7 separate regions of the Homo sapiens genome follow, and regions 1, 2, 4, 5, 6 and 7 are each linked to region 3. Evidence: promoter capture Hi-C in 16 types of primary human blood cells and fetal thymus (Javierre and others, 2016). All regions are on one chromosome and are shown on one strand. The core of a region is centred on a gene start or on the middle of the fragment in contact, and the rest is flanking DNA. Distances in the headings are between cores, read along the strand shown.

Region 1 (3,607 bases), core at 1,068-3,567, 480 kb after region 3:
GAGTCTCGTTCTGTAGCCCAGGATGGAGTGCAGTGGTGCAATCTCTGCTCACTGCAACCTCCGCCTCCTAGGCTTAAGCCATTCTCCTGCCTCAGCCTCCCAAGTAGCTGGGATTACAGGCACGCGCCACTGCGCTCAGGTAATTTTTGTATTTTTTAGTAGAGACAGGGTTTCACCATGTTGGCCAGGCTTGTCTTGAACTCCTGACCTCAGGTGATCCACCCGCCTCAGCCTTCCAAAGTGCTGGGATTACAGGCATGCGCCACCGTGCCTGGCCTCCTGGATGTTTCAATAGAGCTATGCCGGGCACTGCTGGCCCACAGCTTAGGGACATGGTTGTCGGGATGTGTGTGGGTAGCAAAGTCTCCCTCCTCAACTCTGCATTCTGGAGCCAGGCCCAGGGGCTGGGGTCTGGTGTCTGCAGTGGCGTGGGGTCAGCCTCTGAGCTGAGGGGCATCCATTGGCATTTGCTTTCCAGCATCCTCTGGCTGGTGTATAGACACAGTGCTGCCTGGCCCTGCCTTTGCCACTTTTTTTCTTCCTTTTTTTTTTTTTTTTTTTTTTTCTGAGACAGGGTCTCTGTCACCCAGGCTTTAGTGCAGTGGTACAGTCTCCCTCAACCTCCTGGGCATTGATCCTGCTGTCTCCGCCTCCCAAAGTGCTGGGATTACAGGCACACACCAGTGCGCCTGGCCGATTTTTGTTATCTTTAGTAGAGATGGGATTTCACCACCTCGCCCGGGCTAGTCTCAAACAAACAATCCACCGGCCTCAGCATCCCAAAGTGCTGGGATGACAGGCGTGAGCCACCACACCCAGCCTTTTTTTTGTTTGTTTTTTTAACTTTTTAATTTGAAAAATCTTTGAATAGGTTAAGGACAAATTGCAAACCTTAAGCTTTTTTTTTTTTTTTTTTTGAGACAGAGTCTCGCTCTCTTGCCCAGGCTGGAGTGCAGTGACGCGATCCTGGCTCACTGCAAGCTCTGCCTCCCGGGTTCAAGTGATTCTCCTGCCTCAGCCTCCCGAGTAGCTGGGACCACAGGCGACCACCACCACGCCCGGCTAATTTTTTGTATTTTTGGTAGAGACAGGGTTTCACTTTGTTAGCCAGGCTGGTCTCAGTCTCCTGACCTGGTGATCCATCCGCCTCGGCCTGCCAAAGTGCTGGGATGACAGGCTGAGCCGCCGCGCCCGGCCTGCCAAAGTGCTGGGATGACAGGCTGAGCCGCCGCGCTCGGCCATCCTTAAGCTTTTTGTAAGAAACCCAGCATGTGATGGGCACCCGCTGCCAGTCCTGAATTCAGCCTAGGCCACCCCTCCTGAGGACTGTGCCGCTGAAGGGAGGGGCAACAGGCGTCGCATTAATGCCAGGGCGGCCTCCTTCCAGGGACCTGTCCATGATCCTGTGTGACCCCTTCGCCATCAACACGCTGGCACTGAGCACAGTCAGGCACCTGCAGGAGCTGGTCGGCCAGGAGACACTGCCCAGGGTGAGTGTGGGCTTGGCCAGCAGCTGTCGGGGCCATGCGGCCACTCCGCTGGCTGCTCTGGGTGGTCAGGGTGTGGACAGCAGCGGCCAGGTGGAGGCAGCTGTTGGGGCCCTGTGGCCGCCCTGCTGGCTGCTCTGGTGGTCGGGGATGTGGACTGCAGTGGCCCAGGTAGAGGCGTGTGCTTCCCCGCTGTGAGACTGCGTTTCACCCCGTGTGTGGGGCTGGTGATCGCAGTCGTGTGGTCCTGGCCATGGGCACCAGAGATCCTGCTGAGTAACGAGTAGGGTCAGAGGAGCTCCATGGCCAGGACACAGCTGCCTGGGAGAGGCGCTGAGCCCGTCCTCCCTACAGGACAGCCCCGACCTCCTGCTGCTGCTCCGGCTGCTGGCGCTGGGCCAGGGAGCCTGGGACATGATCGACAGCCAGGTCTTCAAGGAGCCCAAGATGGTAACGAGCCTCCTGTGGGGGCTGCCAGTTTCCTACGAGGGGTTGTGGGCTGGAAGTGGGGTGGAGGGGGAGGCGCTAGCAAGGTGATTGTGGAGGCCCCTTTGGTCCCAAAGCTTCCTTCCTGGAGCTGCCCACCTTCCTTTTGGGAAAATGCCCACCAGGGAGGTTCTGGGGTGTCTCCGTGGACCCTGGCTGGTTCTGGGGTATCTCCATGGCCCGTGGCTGGTTCTGGGGTGTCTCCGTGGACCGTGGCTTGTTCTGGGGGTGTCTCCATGGACCATGGCTGGCCACAGGTGGTGACTACTCCATGTGGGTCCAGACCTAGAAGGGGGTTTGAGGAGATGGCCTGGGTGGGGGACTCGGGAGGTGGGAAGAGGGACCTGGGGACCTGGAGAGGAGGGAGGGTCGGTGAGGTATCTGGGGGAGTGGGAGGGCCAGGGGCAGGGTGTGTGTCACGTCAGGGTGGGGTGGGGCAGGGCCCGGGCCCGCGCCCGCTCATGGCCTCCCCTCCTCGTAGGAGGTAGAGCTCATCACCAGGTTCCTCCCGATGCTCATGTCCTTCCTGGTGGATGACTACACTTTCAATGTGGATCAGAAACTTCCGGCTGAGGAGAAAGCCCCAGTCTCATATCCAAACACACTTCCCGAAAGCTTCACTAAGTACGGGCTGTAGGGCCATGGTGCAGGGGTGGCCGTGGCGCAGGGATGGCACTGTTGCCCAGGGGGCTGCCTCAGGGCTGGGCAGGGGTCGGTGTGGGGCTGAGGTGGGGCTGAGGTGGGGCTGAGGTGGGGCTGATGGCGCCCCGGGCGCAGGTTTCTGCAGGAGCAGCGCATGGCCTGCGAGGTGGGGCTGTACTACGTCCTGCACATCACCAAGCAGAGGAACAAGAACGCGCTCCTCCGCCTGCTGCCCGGGCTGGGTAAGTCCTGACGGGCGGTGCCTGGCTGTGTCTTCCCTGCGGCAGCTGCCGTATGCAGTCCTGCCCAGGGTGCGGGCCCCAGGGCCCCCAGGAGCTGCCTTGTCTCCCCAGCCCACCTCCAACTTTGCTAGCTTTGTTTTCACCTTTTTTTTTTTTTTTTTTTTGAGATGGAGTCTTGCTCTGTCGCCCAGGCTGGAGTGCAGTGGTGCAACCTCAGCTCACTGCAGCCTCTGCCTCCTAGGTTCAAGTGATTTCTCGTGCCTCACCCTCCTGAGTAGCTGGGATTACAGGCGCGTGCCACCGTGCCAGGCTAATTTTTGTATTTTTAGTAGAGACGGGGTTTCTCCATGTTGGTTGGGCTGGTCTCGAACTCCTGACTTCATGATCCGCCCGCCTCGGCCTCCCAAAGTGTTGGGATGACAGGTGTGAGCCACCACTCCCAGCCTCGTTTTCACTTTTACTTTTGTTTGTAGTTTATTTTACTAGGAAAGGGAGAGGGAGTTCAACTTTGTGCTTTCCCACAAAAAGGTGATGTAAGAGCTGTCTTTATTTCATCCTAACTGGCGAGGGGCTTGGGACCCCTCAGGTGCTCAGAGAATGGAGCAAAGGGGAGGGAGAGAGATCCCCTGCCCCAGTGCCCCACCCCAGGTGGTGACAGGCCCACTTCCTCCTGGGGGCCTTGACGGGGGAGGGGTTGTTGCAAGCCAGGAAGAAGAGGAAGGGTCCAAATGGGCACCTTCAAGAGTAGAG
Region 2 (3,742 bases), core at 425-2,924, 410 kb after region 3:
TTCAATCCATTTAAAACCGCAGCTCTGTAACCAGCTACACCACGTAGCAGAGAGTATCTCAATATTCATCCTATTTAACCCTTGAGGGTTACAGGCAACCACTATTCATTTCAGGAAAACATTCTCTTACTTTATTTGCATCTCAGCAAAGGTTCTCATGTGGCACCTGACTGGCATCAAACCAAAGTTCGTAGGCCAACAAAGATGGGCCACTCACAAGCTTCCCATTTGTAGATCTCAGTGCCTATGAGTATCTGACACCTGTTCCTCTCTTCAGTCTCTTAGGGAGGCTTAAATCTGTCTCAGGTGTGCTAAGAGTGCCAGCCCAAGGTGGTCAAAAGTCCACAAAACTGCAGTCTTTGCTGGGATAGTAAGCCAAGCAGTGCCTGGACAGCAGAGTTCTTTTCTTGGGCAACAGATAACCAGACAGGACTCTAATCGTGCTCTTATTCAACATTCTTCTGTCTCTGCCTAGACTGGAATAAAAAGCCAATCTCTCTCGTGGCACAGGGAAGGAGATACAAGCTCGTTTACATGTGATAGATCTAACAAAGGCATCTACCGAAGTCTGGTCTGGATAGACGGCACAGGGAGCTCTTAGGTCAGCGCTGCTGGTTGGAGGACATTCCTGAGTCCAGCTTTGCAGCCTTTGTGCAACAGTACTTTCCCAGGATCCACAGGAAATACTCAGAGTCCACCTGGACATTTTACTTATATTCAGTTTCCAAGTGTCAGAGGGGTTCAGGACTGTCTGGCCTGGGGGGCCTCCTCATGACCTCAATTCAGGATTATCTACTCAAAGCATTAAACAAAAGGAAATACATTTTCAGGATGAAGGCTGCTCTTTTAAGCCCTGCTGAAGAAACCATTTCAAACAGGATTGGAATAGGGAAACCCGGCACTCAGCTCGGCGCAAGCCGGCGGTGCCTTCAGACTAGAGAGCCTCTCCTCCGGTGCGCTGCAAGTAGGGCCTCGGCTCGAGGTCAACATTCTAGTTGTCCAGCGCTCCCTCTCCGGCACCTCGGTGAGGCTAGTTGACCCGACAGGCGCGGATCATGAGCAGCTGCAGGAGAATGAAGAGCGGGGACGTAATGAGGCCGAACCAGAGCTCCCGAGTCTGCTCCGCCAGCTTCTGGCACAACAGCATCTCGAAGACGAACTTGAGACTCAGGACCGTAAGTACCCAGAAAAGGCGGAGCACCGCCAGCCGCTTCTCTCCATCCTGGAAGAGGCGCACGGACACGATGGTGGTGAAGTAGGTGCTGAGCCCGTCAGCGGCGAAGAAAGGCACGAACACGTTCCACCAGGAGAGGCCCGGGACCAGGCCATCCACACGCAGTGCCAGCAGCACAGAGAACACCAACAGGGCCAGCAGGTGCACGAAGATCTCGAAGGTGGCGAAGCCTAGCCACTGCACCAGCTCCCGGAGCGAGAAGAGCATCGCGCCCGTTGAGCGCGGGCCGGGGCCCGGCCGAGCGTGCCACCCGCGGGGCTGCGTCTCCTCTCCCCGTGGCCCTCGCCCGCGCCTGCCGCCGCTGCTGCGAGCGAGAGGCAGCGAGCGGCCCCGCCAGCCCCAGCCCTCGGCCCTGATGCGCCGGCAATCCCCCGGCCCCGACCCGGGACTCAACCCTGGCCGCCCGTGAACGCCCGCCTCGATCGGACGCCATGCCCCCACAGGGCGCGTCCCTAGTGCGTCACTTCCGGTCGACGGCGGAAGGCGGAAGGCGGAGCGGTCCCTGCAACCCGGCCGGCGGGAACTGCCTTCTAGTTTTTAGTCTCAGACCAGACCACCGGGCGCACCCCGATGCCGAGCCCGCAGCTTCTGGTGCTCTTCGGCAGCCAGACAGGCACGGCTCAGGATGTGTCGGAGAGACTGGGTCGCGAGGCCCGGCGCCGGCGGCTTGGCTGCCGGGTGCAGGCCCTGGACTCCTACCCGGTGGTGAGGGCTCGCTAGGGCCTCGGCGTGGGGGACGAGCAGGCCTGGCGTGCCCGCCTCGCGGGGTCATCGACCCAAAAGGCGTCGCATTTTCTCTGAGAGCGGGTCTTTCCCTTATGGCGGATTTAGGGAAGGAGGTTTGGGAAGGGGAGTTCAGTTTAGCACCTGGAGGAGGTTGGAACCTGAAAGAGAAGACGGTCTGGCTGCTCACATAAATCCCTCTGCCCTGTCAGCCTGAGTAAAGGAGAAGGGGGTCAAGTTTTGGGAAGGACGCCCGGTCCTTACAGCCGGAGGTCTTACGTGTGTGTGTCTTTTTGTTGAGGTGAATCTGATTAACGAGCCCCTGGTGATATTTGTTTGTGCAACTACAGGCCAAGGAGACCCCCCTGACAACATGAAGGTAAGGCTGGCCTGATGTGGCTCCTCAGATCCCTGCCCTCGACCCTCACCCCGTTTTCATTGCCTGGCGTCTAGGTGCAGTAAATAGCTCTCCTTTATCTCATGCACCTTCAGAGGTGGATTTGAGAGAACGTCCGTGAGTGGGGCTGGGGGCTCCGGTTGCCCTCTCTAATAAACTCGTCGTAGCCACCAAATAGCCTTATTATCCGTTTTAACCTTTCTTATTTTTCCAGGGCTATCTATATGTGCATCTAGTCTGGGTCTTGTGTGTATTTCTAGACTGTATGACCCTCAGGGAACGTTGCTGAATTCTCTGACCATCTTTTAAGCACATATTCTATTCTTGGCACAGTCTGGTGCTGGGGATCCAGCTGTGAACCCAGCAGCCATATTTCCATCCTGGCAGAGTTCACACTGTAGCAGAAGCAGCTAACGGGCAATGACAGTGCCAGCAAACACCTGCTGCTGGGGAAAGTAGCATATGTCACAGGAGCACTGATAAGGGGCATCGAGCCTTATCTCACCCAACCTTGGGGCCCAGGCAGAGGTTTCTGGAAGAAAAGAGTGTAAGCTGAGTCACGGAAGGATGCGTGAGGGCTAGTCAGGCACCGAGGAAGAAGGAGCAGTCAGCGCAGAGGAAAAAGATGATTTGGTTTGTGTGAAAAGTGGAAAGCAGCTCAGGGTGGCCAAGCTGAGGAGTACACTGGGGCAAGAGGGGAGGAGAAGAGAGGCAGGAAGCCAGGCCCAGTCCAAAGAGCCTGAGTAACCACAGCAAGGCAGATGGGCTTGAAATGAAGGGTTGTCGGAACTGTAGGGGTGACACAGTCATGTTCCTAAGCTAGCAAAACCGCACTGGTCTGCAGGACAGCAGGAATAATGCCATGAGATGCACAGGACAGGCAGCAGATGCTACCGATCTGAGCTGAAGTGGTGGCAGAAGATAGAAGTGGACACATTGCAGTGGTGTCAGGAAGAGAGAGTCCCCGGGACATGGAACGGACCCAATAGGTCAAGCAGAATCGAGACAGGGATGTGGGCTCTGGAACCAAGATGGATGGTGGTTCCATCCACAGAAATCAGAGAACACGGTGGGAGTAGGGGGCTGTGCAGGAAGGGAACCTGGAGACATTGAAGTGGAGAAGTGCAGTAGGACTAGCGCTCCAAGGAAGATCCTGGGGCGGAGATAGGTGTTGAGGTAGCCACAATACAGAAGTGTGAGAAGAGGAAGCTCCTCTCTCCCCACAGGACAGGCTGCCCAGAACGTTAGAGCCCAGGAGGGCAGGAGAGTGACCAAGCAGCTAGAAGAGAGGGTGCAGCACCCCAAGGAGAGGACTGGGGGAGTGAGTGTTCCAGGAAGGGCTCTGGCATGTAAAGCTGCACAGAAGTCAAATCAGATAAAGCCTGAGA
Region 3 (3,433 bases), core at 585-3,084:
TGGAGAATGGAGAATGGTGATGACTTTTACCAAGCGTACTGCCTGCAAACACATTGTTAACAAGGCACATCCTGCACGGCCCTAAATCCCCTAAACCTTGAGTCAATACAGCACATGTTCCTGTGAGCACAGGGTTGGGGCTAAGGTTACAGATTAACAGCATTTCAAAGCAGAATAATTTTTCTTAGTACAGATCAAAATGGAGTTTCTTATGTCTTCCTTTTTCTACACAGACACAGTAACAGTCTGATCTCTCTTTTCCCCACAAATGGCATTAAATTATTTCCATATATTATAGAGTAGGTCCTTCCACATTTTGAAGAGTAGCAAATCTAGCTTTTTTGTACAGACTTATAAATTATCTAAAGACTTCAGCCTTTTTTTTTTTTTTGAAACAGAGTCTCACTCTGTCGCCCAGGCTGGAGTGCAGTGGCACGATCTTGGCTCCCTGCAACCTCCACCTCCCAGGTTCAAGTGATTCTCCTGCCTCAGCCTCCCCAGTACCTGGGATTATAGGCACCTGCCACCACGCCCGGCTAATTTTTGTATTTTTAGTAGAGACGGGGTTTCACCATCTTGGCCAGGCTAGTATTTAACTCCTGACCTTGTGATCCACCTGCCTCGGCCTCCCAAGGTGCTGGGATTACAGGCGTAAGCCACCGCACCTGGCCAAGATTTCATCTTTTTACCTCATATTTCTTAGGAATTTAATGGTTATATGTTGTCTTTTTTCCCATGCCTTTTGGCTCAAGCAACACGTATATCAGTGTTGACTTTTTCTTTCTTTGATCTAGTTTAAAAAAAAAAACCACATAATAATTCTTTGAAGAAAGGAAGGGGTTAATTTTTTTCCCTAGCACTTTCTTGAAGATCAGGGACTTTATCGATGAAAAAGTAGTAAATAGTTATTTGTAACCTGTGTGAAGCAGCAGCCTGACTTGAAGTCCTCCGTTCTTGCTAATGGTTACACCAGTGAATACTAGTGGAATTGTTTGGGCTGATTTTAGTTTCTCTTAATCAAAATTACTAGATGATAGAATTCAAGAACTTGTACATGTTATTACTTGGTGTATCGATAATTATTTGAAAGTAAAGACTCTTTGTCATGCAAAACAAAAGGAGTTTGAGGCTCAGCTACTAAGCTGCTGGTTACAGAACCACTTTGCTAAACAGTGATTTTATACATCCCCACTCCGTGGTGGCTTATGAGAAATTCAATCCCTGATTGTAGTCCTCAAGCAAAATAACACTGACAATCATCAGGCCTCTGCAAGTGTGGGAATGAGGCCCGGCCGGGGGGAGGAGCGCACGCTCTCAGCCACGCCCCGCCCGGTGCCCGCCTTCGCCCCGCCCAGTCGTCGCCGGAGGTCACAGGGCCCAAGCTCCTAGAGGCGTGGCCAGGCCCCAGGCCCCACCCCTCTCCCCTGCGCTCTAGCAGGCTCGATCCATGCTCCGCCCCCAATCCAAGGCCCTGGCCCCTCCGCCTGCACCCGGCAGGACCCGCCTCTTAGAACCCGACACCTCCGCCTGCGCAGGCCCGCTCCCCGGTCCTGTCTCTCAGGCCCCGCCCCCAGGTCGCGTCTCCAAAGTCCCGTCTCTCAGGCCCCGCCCCCAGATCACGTCTCCCAGGTCCCGCCCCCTCCGCCTGCTGCCGCGCGGACCCGCCCTCAGGCGCCGTCTCCTAGGCCCCGCCCCCTCCGCCTGTTCCAGCGCGGGCCGGTCCCTAGGCCTCGCCCCCAGATCCGGGCCCTGCCCCTCCGTCCGTAACTGCGCAGGCCTGTCCTCTGGGCCACACCCCCAGGTTCCCGTCCCGCCCTTCCGCCTGCGCCTGCGCAGGCCCGCTCCCCGAGCCCTGCCAACCATGGTGAACTTGGGTCTGTCCCGGGTGGACGACGCCGTGGCTGCCAAGCACCCGGTGAGAAGGCCGGTCTGGGACGCGGGCCTCAAACCCCAGAAGCTGACCTGAGCGAGGCGGGGGGCCGGGGCGTGGGGGTGCCCTCGTCAGGGAAGAGTGGCGGAGGCTGGGGGCACTCTCTTGCTAAGGGGCTCAGGGCGTCCGGGTGGGCATAGGGGAGGTGGGACGTGTCCAAGCGCCCAGGGTCTCACTCCTCCACAGCCAGGGTGTGCCCAGAGGAGGGACAGGAGAGGCGGTGAAGGAAGAGGGCAGGGGATCGAGCCTTCACCCGCCTCTGCCACCCCAGGGACTCGGGGAGTATGCCGCATGCCAGTCACACGCCTTCATGAAGGGCGTTTTCACCTTCGTCACAGGTAGGCTGCGTCCAGGTGTCCTGCGGCTGGGAGAGAACGCACCCTCCCGCCCTGCCCTGACTCCCCAGCAGGGGGCGCCAAGTCACCTGCCCGCAGGTGCTGGGGGCCTGGCAAGGTGGGCCCTGGCTATCCCCGGGTACAGGTTGATGGGGACCTCGGCTCTTTGCAGGCACCGGCATGGCCTTTGGCTTGCAGATGTTCATTCAGAGGAAGTTTCCATACCCTTTGCAGTGGAGCCTCCTAGTGGCCGTGGGTGGGTACTCCAGGGCCCCTGCCTGGGCTCTTTGAGGGGTGGGTTTCTGCTAGGGTTGGGGCTGTGGTTCTGCGTCCCTGACTCTGACATGGAGCCCCAGGTCTCGGCGGGAGCCCCACCTGAGCCCACCCACCACGTCTGTCAGGAAGTAGCCTGTGCCCGGTTCTCTTAGCCTGGGAAGCACAGAGGCCCCAGCCCTCTTCCATTTCCTGCTCCACAGTTGCAGGCTCTGTGGTCAGCTACGGGGTGACGAGAGTGGAGTCGGAGAAATGCAACAACCTCTGGCTCTTCCTGGAGACCGGGCAGCTCCCCAAAGACAGGAGCACAGGTGAGAGAGCCTGGGGGTTAGCGAGAAGTGAATGCCACCTCTCCAGCACCCAGAGTTTTGGGCAGCCAAGCCTGGGTGCACCATGCGATAGGCTAGACAAGGTCCCTCCCTCTGGCCCGGCCTCCTCAGCATGTGACTGCCAGATGGGTTGGAGCTGGGGGTGGGCGCAGTAGACAGATCTTGGAGAGCTCCCTTTGAGGAGAAAGAACCAAGAGGGGCTGGGGTGCCCCTGAGATTGAGAGGAAGGGTGCAGAGTGAAGGGTGTGGCAAGGCCACAGCAGCCACGTGGGCACCCGAGAGGAGTGAGGCTGGACTGAGAAGCCCCGCATTGGACCCAGGCCTGGCCTCCACTGCCCGTTGTCCTTGTTACGGAACCCAGTTTCTGCCATGATAAAATGGGCACAGGGATGCCCAGCCACGATGGATGTGGTTCGAGCTTGTCTCTCTTTGCCTTTTACAGATCAGAGAAGCTAGGAGAGCTCCAGCAGGGGCACAGAGGATTGGGGGCAGGAGGAGTCTGGAACACAGCCTTCATGCCCCCTGACCCCAGGCCGACCCTCCCCACACCCTAGGGTACCCCAGTC
Region 4 (3,555 bases), core at 992-3,491, 440 kb after region 3:
GGGGCCCCCGGAGGAGAGGACAGACTGCATCATCTGCTGCTCGGCCTATGACCTCTCCGGGCACCTGCCCCGCCGCCTCTACTGTGGACACACCTTCTGCCAGGCGTGTGTGCGGCGGCTGGACACACCGGCGCCCGAGCAGCGCTGGATCCCCTGTCCGCAGTGCCGTCAGAGCACGCCCACGCCTCGCGGAGGGGTGGCCATGCTAGACCTGGACCTGGCTGCTTTCCTGGCGGTCAAGGCTGAGCGGGAGCCGGCAAGACTAGAACCCCTGCCCCTCACCTCCCTCAAAGGCAGCGCCATCACTCGGCAGCCAGCTGGGCTGTGCCCTGCCCTGGGACCCCAGCCCCACTTCCCCCAGCCCAGATACTGCTGCTGGGGCTGTGGCAGCCTCTGCTGCCCACCCCTAGGCAGCCCCGAGGTCTGAACTCTGGCCATTCCCACCCCTGCAGGGGAAATGCCTGCCTTGGAACCCCTGACCACACACCATCATGGGTTCAGCCCACTCAGAACAACCTGGCAGTAGCATCCTATACGCAGCTTCGTGTGGCCCAGCAGGGTGGTGTCATCCCAGCCGTGAACATCCCAGGCCACAGCCTAAGGTTGGGGGCTGGGAGGCTCCGCAGGAGGCTGGTGACCTCCCACCTGTCCTGGCCACAATTACCAGACCCCAGACTAGCCCGACCGGATGTGCCTGGTGAGGACACTGCTGTCTGAGTGGGCGGCAAGCCTGGCTTGGGCCTAGACGCAGCGCAAAGGATGGCTCCCAAGAGGATGCGAAGGCGTCCCGGGGGCCTGGGCTGCAGGCTGGAGGGGCAGGGCCGGTCTGGCTATGCCTGGCGGGCTGCCCAGAGCAGGTCTCCCCTCTCCCACAGACGTCCCCGGGGTGTACCGGGAGGGTGGCAAGACTACCTCCTTCCTCCCTGCCCTGCATGGCAGCCCTGTGAATTCACCCACTCAACAAAGCTCATGGAGTTCCCACTGTGTGTCGGGTGCGGTTCTGGGAGGGTCTCGTGTAGGCACGAAGCCATACAGGCATTGAAGGGGATGCCTCGGCGGGGCCTGCCTGAGGCCAACAGAGGGCTGGGGCCTGCTTGAGGTCTCACAGCCCAGTTGGTCTCATCCTTCGCTGAACCTTTCCTGGCTCCGAGCAGCCACCACACAGACCCTTTTGAGGGGCCGGGGCTGGGGCTGGGGCCAGACTGTGGACAGCAGTTACCACCAAGTCAGTGCTGCAACACCCCCACCCCCACTGGAACGAGCTGTCACTCAGGAGCCCCAGGGAAGGACTGCTGCCCCCCACCCCCAGAGCAAGGGCGCAGGAGGGAGACGGAAGAGAATTTGCTGAGCGGACACTCAGAAGCTTCTACCTTCTCCAGGGCAAAGTCCCCATGCACACAGCGGGGGCTGGGCAGCAAGCAAAGCAGGGCACCAGCAGCCCCTGGGCAGGGTGAGCCTCTGGGGGAGCTGCCCCGCACCCCAGGGCAGGAAGAGGCCCAGTCCTCCTAGGGGACACCCCACAGGCGGTGGGGCCAGCTGGGACTCCGCTGGGGAGAACTGTGCGCTGGGCCAGGCAGCGGGTGGGGAAGGTGGCCTGGGGAGCTCTGTCCTCCCCTCTGCAGATGGAGGCTGCCGGCCGCCGTCGCTGGCTATACCAGGGCCGAGCCCGCTAGCAGCCTGCTGGGCCCAACCCTGCCCTGAACCCGGATCTGAACCCTCTGACCTCGGGCTGGGTGCCCTCCCCGGCTACGTGAAAAAGCCCGTCCTCCCCCACCACCTGGTGCAAAGGGCTTCCCTCCCCTGCTCTGCCGAGGGCAGGGATGACCCTGAGAAGGTCTGGGGAGCCCTGAGGTGCATGGAAGTGGGGGACTGGCGTCTCTCGACTCCCGGGCAGCCCCAGCCATACTCTAGCATCCTGCCTGGCTGGGTGGAGTGTGTCTCTTGGGTCACACGGATGCCTGCTGAGGATGCCCAGTACCGAGGGCCGGTGCCCCGCCCCGCAGTGCCCTCGGCCTGATTCAGAGCCCACCCCTGGGAGGAGCCCCACTCCAGGAGGGTTGGGCTGGGGCTTGGAGGTCCTAGCCACAGAGTGACAGGATGGAGACAAGGCCTAGGGGCCTTGGGGCCAGGAGGGTACCCCCGTGAGGGCCTGGGCTCCTGGGTAAACATTAATGGGCTCAGTACCCAGCAGGTCATGTGCGCGATCAGGGGATCTTTGACCTGCAACTGCTCCCGCCCCGTGTCTCCTCCCTGCAGGTGCCCCCTCACCACCCACACAGGTAGGAGCTCCTAGGACCAGGCTGAGGCCCAGGGACAGTGAGGCCGAGGCTGGGTGGCCTCCAGGCCAAGGGCTTGGGCCCCATCCTGAGTCTCCAGGACCCAAGGGCAAGAGACGCCAGGCTTGGGCAGCAGGAGGGAGGGTGAGGCACAGGACGCCTGGACCTGAGCCCAGGGCACTAGGTGGAGGGGTCCAGGTGGGGGGCCCCAGGGGTGGGGTGACCAGGCCCAGGAGGCTAAGGCAGCAGCTTCGGGGCCAGGAGCCTTGAAGTGGTGTGAGGACCCCACCTGCTCCCCATCACCAGGGCGTGGGGCCCTTATCAAGCCGAGACGTCACTGTTTAGTATCAAATGCCAAAGTCTAAGTCGGGACCATCCACAGTGTCCCCGATGACACCAGATAGGGGAGGTCCCCAGGTTCCCCAGCTCATGGCCTGCACCCTCGGCACTAGCCTTCCAGTCAGGACCAGCAAGGGAGCCGGGGAGCTGGAGCCCCTTCGAGTCTACCCCTGAAACTGGACTGGGCTCGCCTGACAACTGCCTGAGGTCATTGTAGCCATCCCCCTGTGGATGGAGAAAGGGGGATGGTCACTGAGGCCTGCAGGGCGTAGAGAGGGAGGGTGGCGGCCAAGGGCTCAATTCAGGGGACCCAGGGGTGTGAATCCAGCTTGTGAGGACAGGGCCGGGGCAGGAGGAAATGTCTCTGACACGCGCGTCCCCCCCAGCAGATCTAGACCTGGGCCTGGGTCTGTCCCTGCCCGAAATCCATGCCGAGTTCCCTTCCCGGCAGCCAGGTCCCCCACCCCACTCTGGACGCGGTTGACCTAGTGGAAAAGACTCTGAGGAATGAAGGTACCAGTGGCCCCTGTGCCCCAGGCCTTCACCAGTCTGACCACCCACCCCCCAGGCACTGGGCAGAGACAGGCCAGGTTTCCTGCGGGCCTCCCGGGGAACCCACAGGGCTCATGACGCCTCCACTCAGGTCCAGCCCAGCTGGAGCCCCATCTTCCCCGTTCCGTTTCTGTCCCTCACTCCAGGCCTCTTACGCCTCAGCCCGTCCTCCGGCCTGTGCCCTTGTGCCCCCAGTTGGAGGGAGGTGGTCCTGGAAACAGCCGTACTCAATTCTACCTCCACAGGGACCTCCAGTTCTGCTCCAGTCTTGGAGGAAGGGGACACAGACCCCTGGACCCTCCCTCAGCTGAAGGACACAAGCCAGCCCTGGAAAGGTGGGTCTGGAGGTTCCGGGGGTGGCAGGCTGGCAGGCCTCTGTCCCCAACGG
Region 5 (3,559 bases), core at 958-3,457, 490 kb after region 3:
TGTCTGTGGTCGGGGGCGAGGGCCGTCTAGTGGAGACGGGGATTCAGGCCGCTTGAAAGTCTGGGATCTCTGGGCGGATGGCAGCGGCTCCGCGGAGCTCGAGCTCGGCGCGCAGGTCCTGGGCCCAGGGCGGGAGCGCTAGCGAGAGGGCTGCCCCGTCCTGCCCAGAGGGTCCTGAGGACTCCCGCTGCTCCTGGAGTCTTGGGGAGGGGTCCGGCTCCACGGGGTGGGGGTGGGGGCTACCAGGAAACCTTTGCCTCCTGGGGCTGTGCAGGACCGGCTAGCCAGCGCTGGGAACCAGGGCTGAGTTCAGCCCAGCTCTGTCCACCCCAACCCCAGGGCTAGGGGAAGGAGCTGGGAGAAGGAGCCCCACCTCTCCCAGGCGAGTATCTGTCCCAGGAGCCCACACAGAGGGACACCCAGCTCTGGTCTGGCCTTCGTGTTGGCTTCAAGGTGGTAACAGAGAGAGCTGCAGAGTGGGGGTGTGTTTGCCAGTCCCTGCATGGGTGAATGTTGGGGTGCCCACTGCTCCCCAGGCAGGACCCCCAGGACTGTCAGCTCCCCTTCCCACAGAGCACCCACCTGGAGGTGTCACCTGCCGGCAAGCGTGGGCCATTCATCCACCTGTCAGTCAACAACACCCGCTGAGCATCGGCTTGTATCAAAAGGTCCAGACCTAAGGGGAAATTTTATCTCTTTCTTTCTTTCTTTCTTTTTTTTTTGACACAGAGTTTTGCTCTTGTTGCCCAGGCTGGAGTGCAATGACACGATCTCGGTTCACTGCAACCTCTGCCTCCTGGGTTCAAGCGATTCTCCTGCCTCAGCCTCCCGAGTAGCTGGGATTACAGGCGCCCGCCATCACGCCCGGGTAATTTTTTTGTATTGTTGGTAGAGACGGTGATTCACTATGTTGGCCAGGCTAGTCACGAACTCCTGACCTCGTGATCCGCCCACCTCGGCCTCCCAAAGTGCTGGGATTACAGGTGTGAGCCACCGTGCCCGGCCTCTTTTTATTTATTCCTAAAATATTACCTTGAGGCCAAATTCTGCGCTTAAGGAGAATGTGCACCAAGTGCTGGGGTGGGGGCTGGTAATAAACGAGGCCACAAATCATGCTTGTTAATAAATTGTGTGGTTCAAATCTGACGACCTACTGTTTGGTTTGTTTCTTGTCTGTCTGGTCTGTTAATAATTGAGGAGGATGCTGAAATCTTTCCCTAATTGTAGATTTATGGTAGATTTATCCATTTCTCTCTAAGCTTCTATTTAATAGGACATGCTGATCGAGAGTTTTGTTTTTTGTTTTGTTTTGAGAAACTTCTGAATGGGGAAGTGGTGTGGACCTGGAGGCTGATGGAAGGATTGGGGCTCACATGCAGTCTGCAGCTCAAACATCCGGGCTTTCCAGGAAATCCATAAATAACTAAAGTATTTTCTTTAATTGCCCTGGACAGGTGCTGAGGGCAGATGACCCAGGCTGGACATGCGGGAAGTTGCCAGCTAACCAGATGATCCCAAATGTCATAGCTGCTCTCCCTCATATGTGCAGAAACTGTTTCTGTGCAGTTGTCTCTGAGTTATTCTTTGACATCTGCCATGTGTCATTACGTAGTAACCCTCGTGATCTGTGTGTGCACATCATAATGACTTTTTTTTTTTTTTTTGAGACAAGGTCTCGCTCTGTCACCCAGGCTGGAGTGCAGTGGTGTGATCTCCACTCACTGCAGCCTCCACCTCCTGGGTTCAAGTAATTCTCCTGCCTCAGCCTCCTGAGTAGCTGGAATTACAGACGCCCACCACCACACCCAGCTAATTTTTGTATTTTTAGTAGGGACTCAGTTTCACTATGTTGGCCAGGCTGGTCTCGAACTCCTGACCTCAGGTGATCTACCCATCTCAGCCTCCCAAAATGCTGGCATTACAGTTGTGAGCCAACGTGCCTGGCTTCTCTTTTCTTTTAATAGAGACAGGTTCTCTCTGTCATTCAGGCTGGAATGCAATGGCGTGATTGTGGCTCACTACAGCCTCGACCTCCTGGGCTCAAGCGATTCTCCCACCTCGGCCTTCCAAAGTGCTGGGATTCCAGGCGTGAGCCGCCGCGCCTGGCCATTCTCTGCATTTTTCAAGGTCAGCAACACTGCATCCTTCCGACCACAGCCAGGAAGAGTTTTCTGCTTTTAAAGACCCATGTGACTAGATGTGTCCACCTGGGCCAGGCGCAGTGGCTCACGCCTATAATCCCAGCACTTTGGGAGGCCAAGGCGGGCAGATCACCTGAGGTCAGGAGTTCAAGACCAGCCTGGCCAACATGGTGGAACCCTGTCTCTACTAAAAATACAAAAATCAGTCGGATGTGGTGTCGAGTTCCTGTCATCCCAGCTACTTGGGGGGCTGAGGTAGGAGAATCGCTTGAATCCAGGAGGTGGAGCTTGCAGTGAGCCAAGACCCTGCGACTGCACTCCAGCCTGGACGACAGAGTGAGACTATGTCTCAAAAAAGATAAAATAAATAAGTAAATGTGTCCACCTGGGTAATAACGGATTATCTTCCCATCCAAGGTCCACACTTACCTACATCTGCAAAGTCCCTGAGTCAGTTTTGGTAATTTGTGTCTTTCTTGGAACTTCTAGGAATTTGTCCATTTCATCTAAATTGTCTAATTTTATTGATTTTTTTTTTTTGAGACAGTCTTGCTCTATCGCCCAGGCTGGAGTGCAGTGGCTCGATCTTGGCTCACTGCAACCTCTGCCTCCTGGGTTCAAGGGATTCTCCTGCTGTAGCCTCCCTAGTACCTGGGACTACAGGTGTGTGCCACCATGCCCAGCTAATTTTTTGTTTTGTTTTGTTTTGAGACGGAGTTTCACTCTTGTTGTCTAGGCTGGAGTGCAATGGTGCGATGATCTCGGCTCATTGCAACTTCCACCTCCTGGGTTCAAGCAATTCTCCTGCCTCAGTCTCCCGAGTAGCTGGGATTGCAGGCACGCACCAACATGCTCAGCTAATTTTTGTATTTTTAGTAGAGACAGGGTTATACCATATTGGACAGGCTGGTCTCAAACTCCCCACTTACAGTGATCCTCCAGCCTAGACCTCCCAAAGTGCTGGGATTACAGGCGTGAGCCACCATGCCTGGCCCTAGGCAAACTTTTTGAAATAAAGCTTTTTTTTTTTTTTTTGGTTTGTTTGTTTGAGACAGGGTCTCACTCTGTCACCTAGGCTGGAGGGCAGTGGTGCAATCTCAGCTAGTGGTGCAATCTTGGCTCACTGCAGCCTTAAACTCCCAGGTTCAAGCGATTCTCCTGCCTTGGCCTCCTGAGTAGCTGGGACCAGAGGCGTGTGCCACCATGTCCTGGTAATTTTTGTTTTTTTTTTTTTTTTTGAGACAGAGTCTCGCTCTGTTGCCCAGGCTGGAGTGCAGTGGCGCGATCTCTGCTCACTGCAAGCTCCGCCTCCTGGGTTCATGCCATTCTCCTGCCTCAGCCTCCCAAGTAGCTGGGACTACAGGCGCCCATCACCACGCCTGGCTAGTTTTTTGCATTTTTTTTTTTTGAGATGGAGT
Region 6 (3,410 bases), core at 501-3,000, 370 kb after region 3:
GGCCTCGGTTAGGGGCCTGGGGAGCCGCCGCCGCGATCCCTGCCCTCCGACCCTGCAGCTGAGGAACCCCTCGGACAAGTTTATCTACGCCACGGTGAAGCAGAGCTCCGTGGATATCTACTTCCGGCGCCAGGTGGAGCTGAGCACCATGTACCGGCATATGGAGAAGCACAACTACGAGAGTGCGGCGGAGGCCATCCAGGCCGTGAGAGACAAGTGAGGCGCGGGCGGCCACCCTGGCGGGGCGGGACAGGTGCGGGGAGGGGGAGGGTGGCCTCCACCGGGCAGGAGAGCGTCCGGGCCGGGCACCCCGGAGGGCGCGGGCGTGGGGCTTCCAGGCTGGCAGGACCAAGGCCCCCGTGACTCCGCCTCTGCCGGCAGCAAGCTGCATGCCTTCATCTGGGACTCGGCGGTGCTGGAGTTCGAGGCCTCGCAGAAGTGCGACCTGGTGACGACTGGAGAGCTGTTTTTCCGCTCGGGCTTCGGCATAGGCATGCGCAAAGACAGCCCCTGGAAGCAGAACGTCTCCCTGTCCATCCTCAAGTGAGTGTCCGTGCGCCCGCGTCCCTCCTCCGCCCCTCTCCGCCAGAGGTGGACGCCCTCCCCAGTGCCAGACCACTCCGAGGCCACCACTGATTTCCCACCCAGGCCGGGCGCTGCCCACTCCACGCCGCACCCTACCCCGCAGGCCCCGCCCCGGCCCCGCCCCCAGCTTGCTCCTTCCCGTCCTGGGCCCCGCCTCACTGCAGGCTCACTTGTTCCCACCGCCAGGTCCCACGAGAATGGCTTCATGGAAGACCTGGACAAGACGTGGGTTCGGTATCAGGAATGTGACTCGCGCAGCAACGCCCCTGCGACCCTTACTTTTGAGAACATGGCCGGTGCGTTCTCCTTCATCCATTCTCGGGTGGGTTCTCCGTGGGCTGCGGCCTCCCTGGCCAGCAACTGAGGCTCTGGGTCCCGGCACACAGGGGTCTTCATGCTGGTAGCTGGGGGCATCGTGGCCGGGATCTTCCTGATTTTCATCGAGATTGCCTACAAGCGGCACAAGGATGCTCGCCGGAAGCAGATGCAGCTGGCCTTTGCCGCCGTTAACGTGTGGCGGAAGAACCTGCAGGTAGGGCAGGCCACCCTCCGAGGCCTGGTGCCCAGGGCCCGGCCTGGCCACGGCCCTCCTCCATCCCCGAAGGCCGTGGCACTGGCTCTGGCTCTGGTGGGCAGGACTGGAGCTAGGAGCCATGGCCAGGGGCAGTGGTGAGTGCTCCCAGGGCACGGGGGCAGCACCGGTGGGGGGCTGCCTGCAGGTGGCTGCCCACTGCAAAGCCGGGGCCGAGGGAGGCCACGCACCCTGCTCCAAGCCTCCGCCTGGCCCCTCTGTCTCCAGAGTCGCCCGCCGGTACCCATTCCATAGGAAGGCAATCAGGCAGGGTAAGACAGGGGCCCGCCTGTGTATGGCACGTGAGTCCAAGATGCATTTTGCCCTCCGCCGACCCAAGCCCCTTGACACCCTTCGGAGACCCCCCCCTTTCCTGCTATGTCCTTGTGCTCCGTGACTCTAATCCGAATTGGGCCAGGTCCGGTCCTGCCTGGTGCCCAGGTTGTATCCATGAGAATTTGCCACCAGCAAGGGCAGCCACGGCCCACCTGGGACAGGGTGGGCAGTGGGCCTGTACAGGCCTAAGGGCTCGTGGCCCGCGGTCGAGTTCCGGTTCACTCCGTCTCTTCTCTTTCTCTGGGTGCCGTCCTGGAGCCTGTGTCCTGAGATGAAGCCGACAGTGCGGCCAGGGCTGCTGGGGGATGGGGGTTGCTGGAGGCTCCACACCTCTCATCCGCCCGCTCTTGCTCTTGGCCCCCACAGGTCCCCTGGGGACCTGGCCGCTGCCAGCACTGGCGGGCACAGGCCACCTGGCCATCAGACCTGAGGCCAGAGTCCCGGGAGCTGCCTCTGTCACTCCAATTCCACCTCGACACCTGCCTCCAGCCCTCGGCCCCTTCCTGAATCTTGGTGTGTGCCCCTTGGGGGTCAGTGGCCTCCACGCAGACAGCTGGTGTGGCCTGAGGGGCAACTCCTCCAGTCCTCAGAGGACTCCTCCTCCTCGGGACGCCTGTAAGCCAGGGCCACCCAGGAGCCAGGGAGCCAGGCGGACCTCCCAGGAAGAGCCAGCCGAGAGCCCCCAAGCCCAGCCCCAGCACGAGCAAGGTCAGGCCCGAGACCCCGGGCAGGAGAAGAGGCCACCCTCGAACGTCCGCTGTCGGCCCGTCTGTCCAGCACAGGGAGGCAGGCAGGAGCGAGGGCCCAAGTGGCCGGCCAGGCTGGGCAGCGGCCCATGCAGGAGCAGGCGAGGGCAGGTGTGGCCACCACCCTAGCCATCTAATCACTTATACATATTCATTTTAGGATAGAAAGAGTGGTAGAGCAGAGCCTGACCCTAAAAAGAAAGCCACATTTAGGGCTATCACCTCCACCCTGGCTTCCAGCTTCAAGAGGCGTAGGTCCTCCAAAGACACGGTAAGGGGGAGAGCACCCCAGTCCCGCGTCCGACTCCACCTGCCCTGCCCTGCGTGTGTCTCCCGCCCCATCACCCCGCCCCGGACCCTGGGCTCCTGTGGCCCACTCTGCCCCTGTCTCCCTGTGGCGGCCGCTCTGCCCAGCCCGCCCATGCTGCTCTCTCTCACTCTCTGGACCTTTCTCCCCGGCCCTCCTGGGTCCTCGGCTTTCCCCGTGTGTCTCCGTTAGTCTGCCCGCCCACCTCCCCTGCCATGACCCACACGCCATCTTGAAGCCTGTCATCTCGTTGGTCAGTCAGTCAGCCACACCACCTCTCGGGGCCAGGTCTGGGGCCCTGGGAGCCCAGCGTGGCCCCATCCTGGACTCCTCAGCTGCCGGGAGGCCACACCACTTCTCTGTTATGTCCCCGTTTCTCTCGCCTCTCCCAGAGGGGCCCGCCGCCCTCACTTCGCCCCTGCGACGGCCCTGGAGGGGGTGGCTGTGATGTCCCATCCCGTCCGTCTGTCTGGCCACTGGCCCCGCCCCCCAGACACCTGTCTCACCTGTCTCACCAGAGCCATGCGTGTTGCATCTTCATGTGGTCTCTGTGTGGGCCGGGGGCTGGGGGCCGGGCCTGGGTCCGTCTGGGTGGACGGCTGGGGCCTGGAGTTGGAACTGGCCCCGGCCACAGGGGACTGTCAGGCAGGGAGTGGGGTGGGACCAAAAGGGGTGGCTCCCACCCCAGGCTGAGCGGGGGCCCTGCAGGAGGTGTGGCGGCAGCTCCCAGAGGGTCTGAGAATGGGTAGGGGCGGCCCCACAAGCCCTGGCCTGCAGAGCCCAGGACGACACTGAGGTTCCCAGACAGGGAGGCCTCTGGAAGGGAAACGACCACCTCAGCTCCTGACCCCAGCAACCCCACAAG
Region 7 (3,406 bases), core at 1-2,500, 390 kb after region 3:
GCCTGTCTCCAGGCTCGCCGGGTCGGTCTTGGACAGCTCAACAGCCAGGTCCCCTGTCCCGTCCGAGTCCCCCGTCAGCCCAGCCACAATCTGCCGCACTGTGTCCTCCCGCGTCCTGCCGATGTGAGTGCTGCTGTGGCCCACAGTGTGGACACCCCGCGCGCACCTCCCACCACTCATTCCAGTCCCGGCCCCATCTAGGCCAGCACCACCGACCCTGCCTCTACACTCAGTGGTGATGGGCTATGTACTAAACACAGGCCCGTCAGACTCCTTAAAAACAAATAAACCCAACGTTACTTGGGAGCAGCAGGAGCTGCGAGCGCAAGGCCGGCCTGCGCACCTGCAATCCCAGCACATAGGGACACTAAGCCAGAAGACCTAAGCCCAGGTGTCCGAGGCTGCAGGGAGACAGGATTCTGCCACTGCACTCCAACAGAGCGAGAGCCTGCCTCAAAAAAAAGAAAAAGAAAAAGAAAAAAGGGCCGGGCACGGTGGCTCACGCCTGTAATCCCAGCACTTCAGGAGGCCGAGGCAGGCGGATCACGAGGTCAGGAGATCAAGACTATCCTGGCTAACATGGTGAAACCCCATCTCTATTAAAAATACAAAAAGTTAGCCAGGCTTGGTGGCGGCCTGTAGTCTCAGTTACTCGGGAGGCTGAGGCAGGAGAATGGCGTGAACCCGGGAGGCGGAGCTTGCAGTGAGCAGAGATCGTGCCACTGCACTCCAGCCTGGGCGAAAGAGTGAGACTCCATCTCAAAAAAAAAAGAAAAAACAAAGAACTGGCTCAGAAGCCAGGCCAGTTACAGCCACAAAGCACCAAAGGAGTCCAGGTAGGGGCCAGACTCCACCGGCTCCTGCTGCTCGGCTCCTGGGGGCCACTGTGCCTGCCAGCCCCGGGCCAGGGCCTCTGCGACCCCTGAGGAATTCCCAGGCAGCCATGTCAAGGTCCTCATCCCAACACATTCTCCACCGAACAGCCCCAGGAGTGTCTGTTCCTTGCCGTGGGAAAGGCCAGGACAGCAGAGCCCACTCCCCTTGCCTGGTCGGCCTTGGGGACTGGTCAGCACCAAGGCGAGGCCAAGTGGAAGAGCTTCTCTCTGTGCTGGAGATGGGGAGGCTGAGGAAGGGCTGTGGTGGGCCTCTGGCAGCTGCACACAGAGGGCACGGTGACACCGTGTGACAAGGACAGGTGCCCGGCACGGGCAAGAGGAAAGGAAAGAGCCTCGGGCCTGATCCCGTGCACTCAGCCCAGCCGGGGGAGACCTTGTGTCCTGACGGCCGAACACACCCTCCGGCTGCCCCCCAGGACCACGAGGAGCTCAGCAGGATGCCCAGGGTCCCAGTGGCTCCTGGGCCAGCTGCAGCCCTCACCTCAGGTAGCGGCGGATAGGCTCACAGGCCACCTCCAGGATGACCATGGAAGGGTCCAGCACGCGCAGCGCCTTGATGGCAGAGATATAGAGGGTGATGATGTCACACGTGTTGACGCCTACAGCCAGGGCAGAAGCCAGCAGTCATGCAGTGCCCGGGACCACAGCCTCCCAGGGGCAACACCCGAGTAGACAGCTGGCCATGCCGGTAGGTGGTCTACAGGTCCCCACTGCAGCCTCGTTCCCTTGTCCCCCCATCCCCACCTCTACCTGTTCACAGGTCCCGCCCTGCAGGGAGGTCTGTTCTGAGAGAACTAAGTCTCATCACCTCAGACCTACCGGTCAGTCCTGACTCCCTCCAAAGAAGAAACAAGCAAGCTGACGGGCACCTCAGATCCCCTAAGGACCTCACCAATTGCTTCTCAACCCATTTCTTCCTTAGACCTACAAGTCCAGGGCTGGCAGACTAGGCCCCAGGCTCCCTGGACATGGGTCCCCTGGTGAGTGTCTAAGCCCAGAGTGCTGGGTGGCCGGGCAGCACACAGCACCTGGATGCAGGAGCCGAGTCTCCAGGGCAGCCTTGAGGGACACGAGCAGCTGCTGCCTCTGGTCCGTCCTCTCCAGGCAGTACTTGAGGTCCTCGATGGCTGGCCGGGAGTCTGGGAAGTCTACAAGAAGAAGAACATCCCTCAGGGACAGACATGGATGCGTGCGCACGTGCAGGCTGGTGCAGAGTGTGTGCGGTGTGGGAAAGGACACGTGCTTGCCAGCCCCAGGACGATGATGAGACCACCTGCTAGGCACCAGACATCCCCCCGACACTCTGGCGTGCTGATGCATTTGACCACAATGCCACAGGGTGGACAGAGCAACACCCAGGGGCCAGTCCCCAGCAGGAGCCAAGGCCAAGGCAGCACAGCAGTGGACACCCAGAAGCACTGTCCAGCATCTGCCACACCTGCCCTGATCCAGGCACGGGGGACGCCGCAGTGGGGACAGTCCCAGCACTGCCCGGTGCACCCCCCTGCAAGAGCGACAGCGAAGGCACAGGGAGCCCCAGACGTGGACACAGGGAGCCCAGATGCAGACACAGAGCCGACATGGCGAAGGCCCTGGGAGCCCCAGATGCAGACACAGAGCAGACACGGCGAAGGCACAGGGAGCCCAGACGCAGACACAAGGAGCCCAGACACAGACACAGAGCAGACACGACGAAGGCCCTGGGAGCCCCAGATGCAGACAAAGAGCAGACACGGTGAAGGCACGGGGAGCCCAGACGCAGACACAGGGAGCCCAGACGCAGACACAGAGCAGACACGGTGAAGGCACAGGGAGCCCAAGACGCAGACACAGAGCAGACACGGCGAAGGCACAGGGAGCCCAGATGCAGACACAGAGCAGACACAGCGAAGGCCCTGGGAGCCCCAGACGCAGACACAGGGAGCCCAGACGCAGACAGAGCAGACACGGCGAAGGCCCTGGGAGCCCCAGACGCAGACAGAGCAGACACGGTGAAGGCACAGGGAGCCCAGACGCAGACACAGGGAGCCCAGACGCAGACACAGAGCAGACACGGCGAAGGCACAGGGAGCCCAAGACGCAGACACAGGGAGCCCAGACGCAGACACAGAGCAGACACGGCAAAGGCCCTGGGAGCCCCAGACGCAGACACAGAGCAGACACGGTGAAGGCACAGGGAGCCCAGATGCAGACACAGAGGAGACACGGGGAAGGCCCTGGGAAGACTCCCCAGACGGGAGAGCGGACCCCAGGGCCGGGGCAGGACCACCTCGGACGATGCTGAAGAGCTCCTCGATGCGCAGGCTGGCGTAGATGCGGTAGAAGAACCTTTGCACGTGGCAGCGCCAGCGGCGCAGGGTGTTGCCGGCCTCGGGAGATGCGGGCCTGGCGGGGCCGTCCTGCAGGAACACCTTGCCGAGCCAGCCGACCACCCGCTCGATCCACTGTCAGGAGAACGCTAGTGTGAGCTGCAGGGAGGCATGGTGAGCCCCGGGCTGACTCAGAGGCTG

Evidence for each region. Contacts are between HindIII fragments. The CHiCAGO score rates a contact against its expected background, and 5 or more counts as called.
Region 1: a contact is called between a fragment that was not itself captured here and the fragment with the promoter of TMEM141 in region 3, in 1 of 17 cell types (erythroblasts). The highest score is 5.5, in erythroblasts.
Region 2: the fragment with the promoter of TMEM203 here is called in contact with the fragment with the promoter of TMEM141 in region 3 in 1 of 17 cell types (total CD8 T cells); the score reaches 6.6 in total CD8 T cells.
Region 4: a contact is called between the fragment with the promoter of SLC34A3 here and the fragment with the promoter of TMEM141 in region 3, in 11 of 17 cell types (total CD4 T cells, naive B cells, erythroblasts and 8 more). The highest score is 9.1, in total CD4 T cells.
Region 5: a fragment that was not itself captured here is called in contact with the fragment with the promoter of TMEM141 in region 3 in 1 of 17 cell types (erythroblasts); the score reaches 6.3 in erythroblasts.
Region 6: a contact is called between a fragment that was not itself captured here and the fragment with the promoter of TMEM141 in region 3, in 2 of 17 cell types (endothelial precursors and erythroblasts). The highest score is 5.8, in endothelial precursors.
Region 7: a fragment that was not itself captured here is called in contact with the fragment with the promoter of TMEM141 in region 3 in 4 of 17 cell types (naive CD4 T cells, naive CD8 T cells, total CD8 T cells and 1 more); the score reaches 7.8 in naive CD4 T cells.

Annotation. Positions count from the first base shown.
Region 1 is chr9:137,264,490-137,268,096 of GRCh38, forward strand. It overlaps NELFB (negative elongation factor complex member B), which reads left to right. Exons shown (of 13, transcript NM_015456.5): 7 at 1,388-1,490; 8 at 1,842-1,937; 9 at 2,455-2,597; 10 at 2,751-2,857. Among named protein-coding and RNA genes, the nearest start is that of NELFB, 11 kb to the left of the region's middle. The HindIII fragment of the contact is 538 bases long and covers 2,049-2,586 here.
Region 2 is chr9:137,203,974-137,207,715 of GRCh38, forward strand. TMEM203 (transmembrane protein 203) reads right to left here and starts at 1,675. Exons shown (of 1, transcript NM_053045.2): 1 at 109-1,675. The coding sequence starts at 1,441. The coding sequence ends at 1,031. NDOR1 (NADPH dependent diflavin oxidoreductase 1) reads left to right here and starts at 1,727. Exons shown (of 14, transcript NM_014434.4): 1 at 1,727-1,939; 2 at 2,259-2,336. The coding sequence starts at 1,805. RefSeq lists a silencer at 1,431-1,690. The HindIII fragment of the contact is 6,239 bases long and covers 219-3,742 here.
Region 3 is chr9:136,789,510-136,792,942 of GRCh38, forward strand. TMEM141 (transmembrane protein 141) reads left to right here and starts at 1,835. Exons shown (of 5, transcript NM_032928.4): 1 at 1,835-1,915; 2 at 2,202-2,268; 3 at 2,438-2,521; 4 at 2,742-2,849; 5 at 3,310-3,433. The coding sequence starts at 1,862. The coding sequence ends at 3,323. RefSeq lists a silencer at 1,222-2,261. The HindIII fragment of the contact is 4,968 bases long and covers 1-3,433 here.
Region 4 is chr9:137,228,660-137,232,214 of GRCh38, forward strand. SLC34A3 (solute carrier family 34 member 3) reads left to right here and starts at 2,242. Exons shown (of 13, transcript NM_001177316.2): 1 at 2,242-2,279; 2 at 3,005-3,128; 3 at 3,413-3,502. The coding sequence starts at 3,044. It overlaps RNF224 (ring finger protein 224), which reads left to right. Exons shown (of 3, transcript NM_001190228.2): 3 at 1-981. The coding sequence ends at 427. RefSeq lists an enhancer at 1,039-1,539. The HindIII fragment of the contact is 19,638 bases long and covers 1,362-3,555 here.
Region 5 is chr9:137,281,496-137,285,054 of GRCh38, forward strand. It overlaps TOR4A (torsin family 4 member A), which reads left to right. Exons shown (of 2, transcript NM_017723.3): 2 at 1-1,146. Among named protein-coding and RNA genes, the nearest start is that of TOR4A, 5.5 kb to the left of the region's middle. The HindIII fragment of the contact is 1,900 bases long and covers 1,258-3,157 here.
Region 6 is chr9:137,162,788-137,166,197 of GRCh38, forward strand. It overlaps GRIN1 (glutamate ionotropic receptor NMDA type subunit 1), which reads left to right. Exons shown (of 20, transcript NM_007327.4): 15 at 59-216; 16 at 382-543; 17 at 772-881; 18 at 972-1,117; 19 at 2,399-2,509. Among named protein-coding and RNA genes, the nearest start is that of MIR3621, 4.8 kb to the right of the region's middle. RefSeq lists an enhancer at 1-499. The HindIII fragment of the contact is 3,872 bases long and covers 1-3,410 here.
Region 7 is chr9:137,181,748-137,185,153 of GRCh38, forward strand. ANAPC2 (anaphase promoting complex subunit 2) reads right to left here. Exons shown (of 13, transcript NM_013366.4): 4 at 3,166-3,340; 5 at 1,925-2,044; 6 at 1,378-1,495; 7 at 1-115. Among named protein-coding and RNA genes, the nearest start is that of ANAPC2, 5.1 kb to the right of the region's middle. The HindIII fragment of the contact is 8,215 bases long and covers 1-3,406 here.